3 separate regions of the Homo sapiens genome follow, and regions 1 and 2 are each linked to region 3. Evidence: promoter capture Hi-C in 16 types of primary human blood cells and fetal thymus (Javierre and others, 2016). All regions are on one chromosome and are shown on one strand. Each heading gives the region's core, a stretch centred on a gene start or on the middle of the fragment in contact. The rest is flanking DNA. Distances are from core to core; before and after follow the strand shown. Region 1 overlaps LINC01839 (long intergenic non-protein coding RNA 1839). Region 2 holds the start of HTR3E (5-hydroxytryptamine receptor 3E). Region 3 holds the start of PSMD2 (proteasome 26S subunit ubiquitin receptor, non-ATPase 2).

What was found. Contacts are between HindIII fragments. The CHiCAGO score rates a contact against its expected background, and 5 or more counts as called.
Region 1: a contact is called between a fragment that was not itself captured here and the fragment with the promoter of PSMD2 in region 3, in 1 of 17 cell types (total B cells). The highest score is 6.0, in total B cells.
Region 2: a contact is called between the fragment with the promoter of HTR3E here and the fragment with the promoter of PSMD2 in region 3, in 4 of 17 cell types (M0 macrophages, endothelial precursors, M1 macrophages and 1 more). The highest score is 8.3, in M0 macrophages.

Annotation. Positions count from the first base shown.
Region 1 is chr3:184,523,692-184,526,904 of GRCh38, forward strand. All of the region lies in intron 6 of LINC01839 (long intergenic non-protein coding RNA 1839), which reads left to right. Among named protein-coding and RNA genes, the nearest start is that of LINC01840, 32 kb to the right of the region's middle. RefSeq lists enhancers at 1,305-2,109, 2,110-2,912. The HindIII fragment of the contact is 249 bases long and covers 1,321-1,569 here.
Region 2 is chr3:184,095,213-184,098,768 of GRCh38, forward strand. HTR3E (5-hydroxytryptamine receptor 3E) reads left to right here and starts at 1,852. Exons shown (of 9, transcript NM_001256613.2): 1 at 1,852-2,384. The coding sequence starts at 2,318. It overlaps HTR3E-AS1 (HTR3E antisense RNA 1), which reads right to left. Exons shown (of 3, transcript NR_133658.1): 3 at 1-138. The HindIII fragment of the contact is 4,461 bases long and covers 1,579-3,556 here.
Region 3 is chr3:184,296,795-184,300,490 of GRCh38, forward strand. It overlaps PSMD2 (proteasome 26S subunit ubiquitin receptor, non-ATPase 2), which reads left to right and starts at 2,447. Exons shown (of 21, transcript NM_002808.5): 1 at 2,447-2,607; 2 at 3,057-3,113; 3 at 3,486-3,650. The coding sequence starts at 2,473. RefSeq lists a silencer at 2,115-2,454. The HindIII fragment of the contact is 6,965 bases long and covers 1-3,696 here.

The DNA.
Region 1 (3,213 bases), core at 195-2,694, 230 kb after region 3:
TGAAAGACATCACAAATAGTTATAAGATAAGCCATGGAGTGAATGACAATATTTGCAACTCATCCATCTGATGAAAGATTAAGATACAAAATTTATAAAGAATTCTTAAAAACCAACAAGAAAATGTCAACAACCAATAGAAAAATAGGAAAAAGTTATGATCAAGACTTTACAGTATAAAAAATACCAATAAACATAGGAACAAATGCCTGACCTCTAACCCCATGGTAATTAGGGAAATGCAAATTTAAACCATGAGAAGTAACCACACCCATTACACTGGAAAAGAACTGACGTGATGAGAGGCAGTGTTGAGGGCTGGGAGTGTTACTACAATGACTCATCTGCTGCTGGCAAGATCGCTTTGGAGAACGACTGGGCAGTAATTTGTAGCACTGAAGTTAGGCATCCCTTGCAATGTCTGTGGCCAATGCTAGGTGCACTCCATAGAAACTCACATGTGCACAAGAAGACACAGACCAGAATGTTCATCGCGGCACTGTTTGTAATAAGAACAAAATGGAAACATTCTAAATTTTCACAGCAGGAGAATGGATCAATACATTTAGTATGATATTAACAAGTCTACTATACTGCAGTGAAAATGATTTTTTATTTCTTAAAAAACAACAAACATATGTAGTGCCATGTGCCAGGCTCTGCTCTACGTTTTTGAGAAATATTAAGTCATATTTACTGAATGAACCAGAGCCAGATTCATCAACATGAGTCGACATGGATGAATCCCCAGAGCACCAAGTTGACTTAAAAAAGCAAGTCAAAGGAGTGTGCATAATACTTTGTCATATATGTCAAGTTTGAAATACTTATATAATGTTTAGGAATCCACTCATATGTAATAAAGATAGTGAGAAGTCACCTCAGGGATGAGGGTGAGGAAGGTGGTGAAGAGGGTCCCTAAGGGGCTTCAGCAGTGAGGTTGCTCCATTCCCCATGATTATTGATGGGTAAGTTCTTCTCTATACCTTGATATGTATCTGAAATAGTTCATAAAAAAGTTTTTTCAAAAGAAAAAAAAAGCACCCATTCCTATTTAAAATGTATTTCTTCCAGTCTTTCCACTATGCTTAGTTTATATACTTGTGATTATCTTGTGTATACAAACTCACCTTGTGCCTTTTACAGAATGAGAAAATTTCCTTATACTATCGAAAACTTTTCAGAAATGTTATCAATGACAGAATGATATCACAACTGTGGATACACCATAATGTATTTATCAGTGCCCAACTAGTTGATTCCAATTTTAGATAATTTTTTTTCTCATTTTTCAGTGCAAAGAATGTCTGTGTCCATAAAAGCTTTGGGGGAATATTTGGGATTATTTCTTCTGATGCATGACCACTACTAGAACCACAATATCAAACAGTGTGAGCATTCAAAGACTCTAACTCTGTATTATTACATTTTGCCAAAACAGCTAGACCAGTTCCGCCCCCCTCCCCCGTCCCTGACTGTGCCCGGATCACTCCACTTCCTCTGTAGCTCTGTCAGCCCTAAACAGTTTCCTTTTAAAAAGCCCTTACTATTTTGATCGGTGACAATGGAAGCTTATTTGTATTGTTTTGAGAACACCCCCCACAAACGCACGTAAAACCTCTATAAAGGGAGAACCGCCTTGCTGCTGAGGGCGCGGTGGGACCCGTCGCAGGGCCAGCTGCTCCGGCAGGTGCCCCCAAAGGGTCCCGCAGGTGATCCTCGGGGACTGAGCGCCCATCGCCCTTCCTACGCACTCAGATCCGCCGAGCCCAGCGCCCGCCAGAGCCCAGAGAGTCCTCGGGGTCAGAGTGGTCACGTCACCGTCATTCTTTTCCTGCCCGACTAGTCGCTCTGGGCTCCCCGGGGCCGGGGGCCGGGGGCCGAGCCGCCGCCCCGATTCCGGCTTCACCCGCCCGCAGCGCGCGGCGCCCCGCGCTCCATTCGCGCTACCTGGCGGCTGGCAGGCTGCCCCACCCCACCGCGGGCCACACACAGCCAGGGTGGGACCCCGGCCGCTTTCTCTTTCCCAGGGAGAGGACTGGAATTTGGGGGGGAGGTGGGAATTGAGGAAGTCGGGAAGGGAGGAGTAGAGAGGTGGGTGAGAAGGGGGAGGATGCTTCTAGAAGGCGGGTGAGGGAGCTGGGGAGGCCAGGAAGGGGAGGAAGGGGTAAGAGGTGCGGGAGGGCCTAACGGGGAGACTCCGGGGGCAATCAGTGGGTATTCACAGGGAGCTGGGCGCGAGCATCAGCGGGATGAAAGGCAGGTCAGGGCTTGCCCGTCAGGTCCGGACTGCGCCCTGGAGGGGCTCCCAGTAGAGCCTGCGCAGGAGCGCGGGGAGCGCGCAGCCCAGGCCTCTGGCCAGGTGGAGCAAGAGGAGGGCGGAGGTGGACAGCGCATCTCGCCCGTGGAGGACGGGCAAGGACGCCGCCTGCCCAGCTGTTGGAGTCTCCTGGGCACGGACTGAGGGGGAGGGTCTGAAGAGCCCAGAGATCCCAGAGGGACCAGCTTCTTGTTACAGGGAAAATCCTCACCACCGAGAGATGCAATGAGTGAATCACGGTCTAGCCCTGTTTGGGAGACTCTGTGGCCATTAAAAATGGCGATGCTCCCCAGAGTGTGTGGGGCACAGGAATCCTCTAGGGGGCTTACGAAAATGCAGATTCCGGTTCGGGCCTGACATTCTGCTCTTCTCACAAGCCCCCTGGCTCCTGCTATTGATGTAGAGCTAGCTTTAGATTGTACGGTAAAGGGAAAACCAGTAGGTGTGGGATGAGCCCATTTTGGTTCTTTGAAAAATGTGTTTCTTACACAAACACACAAACACATATACATATGCAGGAAATAAGATGCAAAAAACAAGAAAACACCAACTATGTTTTTCCCTAAGAGATGGGATTCTAGTCGATCTAAATTTTCTACTTTTTGCTTATCTCTATTTCCTGAATTTTCTTCAGTAAACATACATTCCTATTGTAAGAAAAAAGATTCTCGCAAAACCGTAGAAGTTACTTATTTCAAGGAGAGTGTAGGAGTCAAGGGAAAGCCTCCTTTGAAGGTTTACTAAAAATCACTGACAAAAGGCAGATTAACGGGAAAAAATGCATACAAATTTATTTGATCACAGTTTATGTGACATGGGAGCCTTTAGAATGACAACCCAAAGATACAAGAGAAGCTGTTTTTTGTTTTTGTTTTTGAGACGGAGTCTCTCTG
Region 2 (3,556 bases), core at 602-3,101, 200 kb before region 3:
CTTGATTTAAAAATGGGTAAAAGGTTAGCCATAGTGGTTCATACCTGTAAATTCCAGTGATTTGGGAGGCTGAGGCAGGAGGATTGCTTGAGGCCAGGAGTTCAACACCAGCCTGGGCAGCATAGCAAGGCCCTGTCTCTAGAAACAATAAAAAAAAATTAGCCACACATGGTGGCATGCACCTGTAGTCCCAGCTACTTGGGAGGCTGAGGTGGCAGGATTGCTTGAGCCCTGGAGTTCAAGGCTACAGTGAGCTATGATCATACCACTGTACTCCAGCCTGGGAGACAGTGAGACCCTGTCTCTAAAAAAAACAAAACAAAACAAAAAGCAAAACTCAGTGGACAGATTAGACACAGCTGAGGGCCGGGCACGGTGGCTCACGTCTGTAATCCCAGCATGGTGGCTCACAGTTGAGGGCCAGGCATGGTGGGAGACAGTGAAACCCTCTCTCTAAAAAACAAAAAAACAAAAAAACAAAACCAAAACTCAGTGGGCAGATTAGATGGACAGATTAGACACAGTTGAGGGTCAAGCACAGTGGCTCACTCCTGTAATCCCAGCACTTTGGAAGGCCGAGGTGGGCAGATCAGCTGAGGTGAGGAGTTCAAGACCAGCCTGGACAACATGGTGAAACCCTGTCTCTAATAAAAATACAAAAATTAGCTGGGTGTGGTGGCACAAGCCTGTAGTCCCAACTACTCAGGAGGCTGAGACAGGAGAATCGCTCAAATCAAGGAGGTGGAGGCTGTAGTGAGCCAAGATCACGCCACTGCACTCTAGCCTGGGCAACAGAATGAGACTCCATCTCAAAATAAAATAAAATATGGAAGGCATCCATACTTGCATTTTGCATTCTTCGTATGTAATCATATTGTCAAAGACAAATTATGTCATAATCTATTGTAAATAACACTTTTCCCCAGACCTACCATAAAGTTTCTGCAATGTATTGTCTTCCAGTTGCAATAAAAATTACTGAGTTTCATCAAAAATTAATTAATTAATTAATTAAAATAAACACAGTTGAGGAGAGAATTTTTTTCCTGGAAGCTAGATCTGAAGAAATCATTAGGGACAGAGATAAAGAGGTAGAAAATAGGAAAGAGAGGTGTGCTAGGCAGAATAACGGCCCCCAGAATTTGTCCACATCCTAATCTCTGGAACCTTAGGTTATATGGAAAAGGGGAGTTAAGGTTGCAGATGGAATTAAGGTTGTTAATTATCGGACTTTGAGATGGGGAGACTATCCTGGATTATCCAAATGGACACAATGCAATCACAAAGGCTCTTATAAGTGGAAGAAGGAGAGAGAAACAAATAAGAACCAGAGAGATGAGATGCCTTGTGAGAAACATTGGCCTGATGTTGCTGGTTTTGAAGATGGAGAAGTAAAAATAATGAACCAAGAAATACAGGCAGTTTAAAAGCTGGAAAAGGCCGGGTACAATGGCTCATGTCTATAATCCCAGCACTTTGGGAGATCAAGGTTGGAGGATCACTTGAGGCCAGGAGTTGGAGACAAGCCTAGGCAACAAAGCGAGACCTCATTTCTACTAAAAAAAAAAAAAATAGCCAAGCTTGGTGGCTCACACCTGTGAGGTCCCAGCTACTTGGGAGGCTGAGACGGAAAGATCCCTTGAGCCCAGGAGGTCAAGGCTGCAGTGAGTCGCGATTGCGCCACTGCACTCCAGCCTGGTCAACAGAGTGAAACCCTGTCTCAAAAAAAAAAAAATCTGGAAAAGGCAAGGAAATGGATTCTCCTCTAGAGCCTCCAGAGGGAATGCGGTCCTGCTGACACATTCATTTTAGCCCAGTGAGACCCATTTCAAACTTCTGGCCCACAGAACAGTAAAATAACAAATTGTGTTTATTTAAGCCACTGGGTTTGTGATTTGTTACAACAGCAATAAAAGGCATGTAAGATAGAAGGAAACCATTCAACACATGTCTAATAAGAAAAATAGAGGAAGTGAAACATTTATAAATGTCTGAGAATTTTCCAAAATTGAAGAGATGAGTCTTCAGACCAAGGGATCTCACCAAGATCTGCAAGTTGATCACGTATGAACTATCTATAACCATTTACGTTGCAGTGAAATACCTAAGACTAAGATAAAGTCTTAAAAGCAGACTGAACCTTAAGCATAGGCAAGAACAAGACAACCAGAACACTCTTTGAAGGAAGGTTACAAATGTCAGTGGTCAACCAATGCTATTAGTATTCAAAGTCAGACTCTAGGTGTGGCCTGTGCTGCTTTAATCTGGGCATTCCTGGGTCCCAGTACATGTTCAGAGAAGAACTTAGACAAAGAAGATGGAAGGAAGCTGGTTCCACAGGAAAAGATTTTCCTTCTACCTCCTTCTCGGTTTTCTGCTTCAAGGTAAGAAAGGAGCAATGATGGGGGAAGGCGGAAGAAGGAGGACCTCTCTCTAGTAGAACATCTAGGAACTTTTTTCAAATTTCCAACTCCTAGAGATTGTCTAAGATGGATAGAGTTCTTTCATAGCTACATTACTAAGATGCCCACATAGACTTTCCTTTTCTGAAAGACGGAAAATCCCCTTCCAGTTACATGCCAAACAAGAGCACTTTCATTTTCCTTCTCGAAAAATAGAGTTCAACACCAGCAAACTTTATCCTTTCACATATGGATATCCAGTTTTCCCAATACTACTTGAAAAGTCTGTCTTTTCTCCATTGGTACCCTACATGGAAGACAACCATCCACGATCGTCTTCTCTTGTATTTAGCTTCTATATCCATCCATCTTTCTATCCACAGGTGTAATTCTTTCTCTCTACAGGTATGAAACCCAAACCATTGTAGCAAAGTGCCCACCTCCTTTAGCCATAATTTCCCTGTCCATCTGCTGGATCCAAGGGCTCTAGGTTAGGTAAGGTGCCAGAAGGCAGCAGGTCAAGGGTGAAAGTAGAATGTGCTTCTCTTCCAGGGGGTCAGCATGGTAGAGAGACAAGAACATGGGATTTGGAGACAGGTGGACCTGGGTTTGAATCTTGGTGTCTCACGTTGCTAGTTTTATAAACTTGGATGCACTGCTTAACTTATCTGAGCTCTGGTTTCCTCATCTGTAAAACAGAACCTACCTTGCAGGGTTGTGAGGATTCAGTAAGAGAAGGAGGGAAGCACAGTGTCTGGCACTTGGTAAAAGTGCCAATAACTGTCATCTCTCCTCGTTAGATTATTCCATGACTTTGGATAAGGAGGCACAGGAGAGGACTGAACCAGAGGTGACTTTAAAGGCCAGCACAGGGAAGAGACACAAATTGTACACCTGGTCTAGGCAGTGTAAATGGTTATGAAAGCTCCTCTGGGCACTTGCACACAGGGGTTGACAAATGAATATTCACTGTTCTTAGAGTGGTTTAAGAATTTGCTGGAAAGCACTGTGACGTTGGGAATGGATAAGGCTCAATGTCCTTGGCACAGAGGTTATCAACCATCTCTCTCAGTCCAAGTTGTTGCTCCTCCAACACATTTTCATGACTAGAAAATTTAAAAATTTATTAGTTAGAAGAGGGTGGGACGGGTCAG
Region 3 (3,696 bases), core at 1,197-3,696:
CAAGCCAGGCGCTAGGCTGGAGGCTAGGAGCATAAAGATGAATAAGACACAGTTCCAGGCCGGGCGCAGTGGCTCATGCCTGTAATTCCAGCACTTTGGGAGGCCAAGGCAGGCAGATAACTTGAGGTCAGGAGTTCAAGACCAGCCTGGCCAACATGGTGAATCCCCGTCTCGACTAAAAATACAAACATTAGCGGGGTGTGGTGGTGCATGCCTGTAGTCCCAGTTACTTGGGAGGCTGAAGCAGGAAAATCACCTGAACCCGGGAGGCAGAGGTTGCAGCAAGCTGAGATCATGCCACTGCACTCCAGCCTGGACGACAGAGCGAGACTCCGTCTGGAAAAAAAAAAAAAAAAGAAGAAGGAAGTCATGGATAAAGAGGAGTTTTAGAAAAAAATCCCTCTACAGATGACTGAAGAAAGCATGAAAATGTATGGACACCGTGAAGCCAGAGATAGAATAGGCAGAACAGTTATGGACTGTTGAATTTTTGTCTGCAGACCAGCGCTGGGGGAGTCATTGGCAATGGCAATGGAAGGTCATGCCTAGAATCCAAGCACTGAGTGGAAAAGAGCAACAGGTATTTAAAATGGATTCAGACCTTTACTTCCGTATCTACACAAACATTTACCCAACATTCACTCTGTGATATGTTGTACTAGGTGTCTTTTTCTTCAATGTGTCAGAACCCATAAAATAAGATTGCTAGAAGACTCCTGAGTGTTCCCACTAGGTGAAAGGGAGAAGAGATACTTCCTTTTTTCTCACCTTACACGCACACACACACACACACAGCTGAAGAAGAAACTCTGGGGTTTGCCTAAAACAGTCAAGGGCTTTGAAGACTGAAAGACTGAGCTTTAAATTTTGATTCCGCCGGGCGCGGTGGCTCACGCTTGTAATCCCAGAACTTTGGGAGGCCGAGGCGGGCGGATCACCTGAGGTCGGGAGTTGGAGACCAGCCTGACCAACATGGAGAAACCCCGTCTCTACTAAAAATACAAAAATTAGCCGGGCGTGGTGGCACAAAAATTCAACAGTCCATAACTGTTCTGCCTATTCTATCTCTGGCTTCACGGTGTCCATACATTTTCATGCTTTCTTCAGTCATCTGTAGAGGGATTTTTTTCTAAAACTCCTCTTTATCCAGCTACTCGGGAGGCTGAGGCAGGAGAATCACTTGCACCCGGGAGGCGAAGGTTGTGGTGAGCCGAGATTGCGCCATTGCACTCCAGCCTGGGCAACAGGAGAGAAACACTATCTCAAAACAAATAAATAAAATAAAAAATAAATCCTCATTTTACTACTTGATATGATCTTCTCTGTAAAATGGACCTAACCCTACCAATCTCAAAAGATTGTAAGAAGTGCATGGAATCACTCGAAAGCAGTCCTGACATAAGCGCGTCAGTCACACGCCTCTAAGGCTTCACAGGGAAAGACGAGAAGATAGAGGACGAAGACCTTGTCTTGTTCTGCTTTTAGCTCCAGAACTTGGCGGGGAGCACAGGGCTTTATTGATCGATGTCAACTCCACCTGGCTCCCCAAAGTATTTAAAATGGTAGCCACGGGAATAGCAGAGTACTCTCTTTCAACTGGGGAGGAATATCAAATGAGGTTAATAGGCCGGGCGCGGTGGTTCACACCTGTAATTACAGCTCTTTGGGAGGCTGAGGCGGGCAGATCACTTGAGGTCAGGAGTTCGAGACCAGCCTGGCCAACATAGTGAAACCCCCGTCTCTACTAAAAAATACAAAAATTAGCTGGGCGTGGTGGCGGGCGCCTGTAATCCCAGCTACTCGGGAGGTTGAGGCACGAGAATCACTTGAACCTGGTAGGCGGAGTTTGCAGTGAGCCGAGATCGCGCCACTGCACTCCAGCCTGGGCGAGAGAGCGAGCCTCCTTCTCAAAAGCAACAACAACAACAAAACCAAATGAGGTTAATATTCCACAGTGGTGTGGGGCTAGACACAGTTACACAGACTTTATACAGGCGGCAATCAAGCGTCCTGGACGTCAAGAAATCTAGTTTGTCTGTCGCGCCACGCAGTCAACTGGAGTGTCACTGTGGGTTCTATTTACACCGTTATGAGAAAAACCTGTGGCGGAGTAAAACTCGGTAACTCCGCTCGCAGACCGCCCATCTACAGCAGTGAGCGAACCCAAACCCCACACGGCCAAGTCCCGCGGGTTTCAGGAAACTCCGAAGAGGTCGGGGGCCAGGGGCGACTATGGCGCGGGGGAGGCTGGGAATTGTAGTCTCCACCTGCCTCCGAGGGCGGGGTCCGAGGGCGGGGCTCTCAGGCCGAGGGGGTGGGTGGGTCGCCGAGCGCCCCGGCTCGCCCCGGCGTTTCCGGTCGCAGGCGGGCTCTGGAGGAGGAGGGGCGCCGCGACCGACGCGCGCGAGTTGGTCTGGGAAAAAGGGCGGTGCGAGCGGGTGCGCGCGCAGCGGGCCGGCAGTGGCGGCGGAGATGGAGGAGGGAGGCCGGGACAAGGCGCCGGTGCAGCCCCAGCAGTCTCCAGCGGCGGCCCCCGGCGGCACGGACGAGAAGCCGAGCGGCAAGGAGCGGCGGGATGCCGGGGACAAGGACAAAGAACAGGAGCTGGTGAGGCGCGACCCCGAGAGTCGGCGAAGGAGGCTGCGGGGCTGAGTCACGGCGGCTCCGCAGGCCTCAGGCCCGACACCCAACTACCCCACCGCGCCAGGGAGAGGGCGGTTGGGGCGACCCTCGGGACTCCCGGCACCTTGCCTCTCTGCTCCTCATTCTCCGTTCCGCGCTGTCACCTCCGCCGTCCCCACCAACCCTCACCACCGCCGCGTGAAGTGGACTCGGGCAGGTCATTGTCACCTCCGTTTCCTAGAGTGGCATTCAAGTAGAGCCTGATTCAGAACCCAGGCTGATTTCTCACCAGGGCTTCCCATTCCCACTCGGTTTCCTTGTCCACCTGGCCCCTCCTAAGGAGGCAGGCTTATTCTTCACCTGCCCCGGGTAAGTGGGAGGAGGACGTCTTTGGGATTCCTTCTCTTCATGAGCTGCTTCTCCCAACCCTCCAGTCTGAAGAGGATAAACAGCTTCAAGATGAACTGGAGATGCTCGTGGAACGACTAGGGGTGAGTCACGATGTTAACATGATTCGGTGCATGTTTGGATCTTTCCCACTTGTTTTATTCTTTTTTGAGGCAACTGCTATGTACGGTGGACTGTATTTTAGGGTCAGTGTTATGATGATGTTGGGAGGCAGGAGAGTTACAAAGGGTATTTGTACAGTTTTGCAGCTTTCTCTTGTGGGAGAAGCAGAGTTCTTACCTCTTAACTTGGGTCATTTGTTTTTGTGCCAGGCAGGGTGCAGGGAGTTGAGGAATCACAGATGAATGAATAAGACACAGCATTTCCTTGGAGGAGTTGTTAAGTTAAATATCTCTGTATTATGACTTGAAGGGGTGTGACTCCTTTTTGTCTGAGCCCTGTCGTCTCTTGATCAGGAGAAGGATACATCCCTGTATCGACCAGCGCTGGAGGAATTGCGAAGGCAGATTCGTTCTTCTACAACTTCCATGACTTCAGTGCCCAAGCCTCTCAAATTTCTGCGTCCACACTATGGCAAACTGAAGGAAATCTATGAGAACATGGCCCCTGGGGAGAATAAGGTAAAACTGTTTCAAACCTGGTGGAGGCCTAGTTTAGGAATTCCTT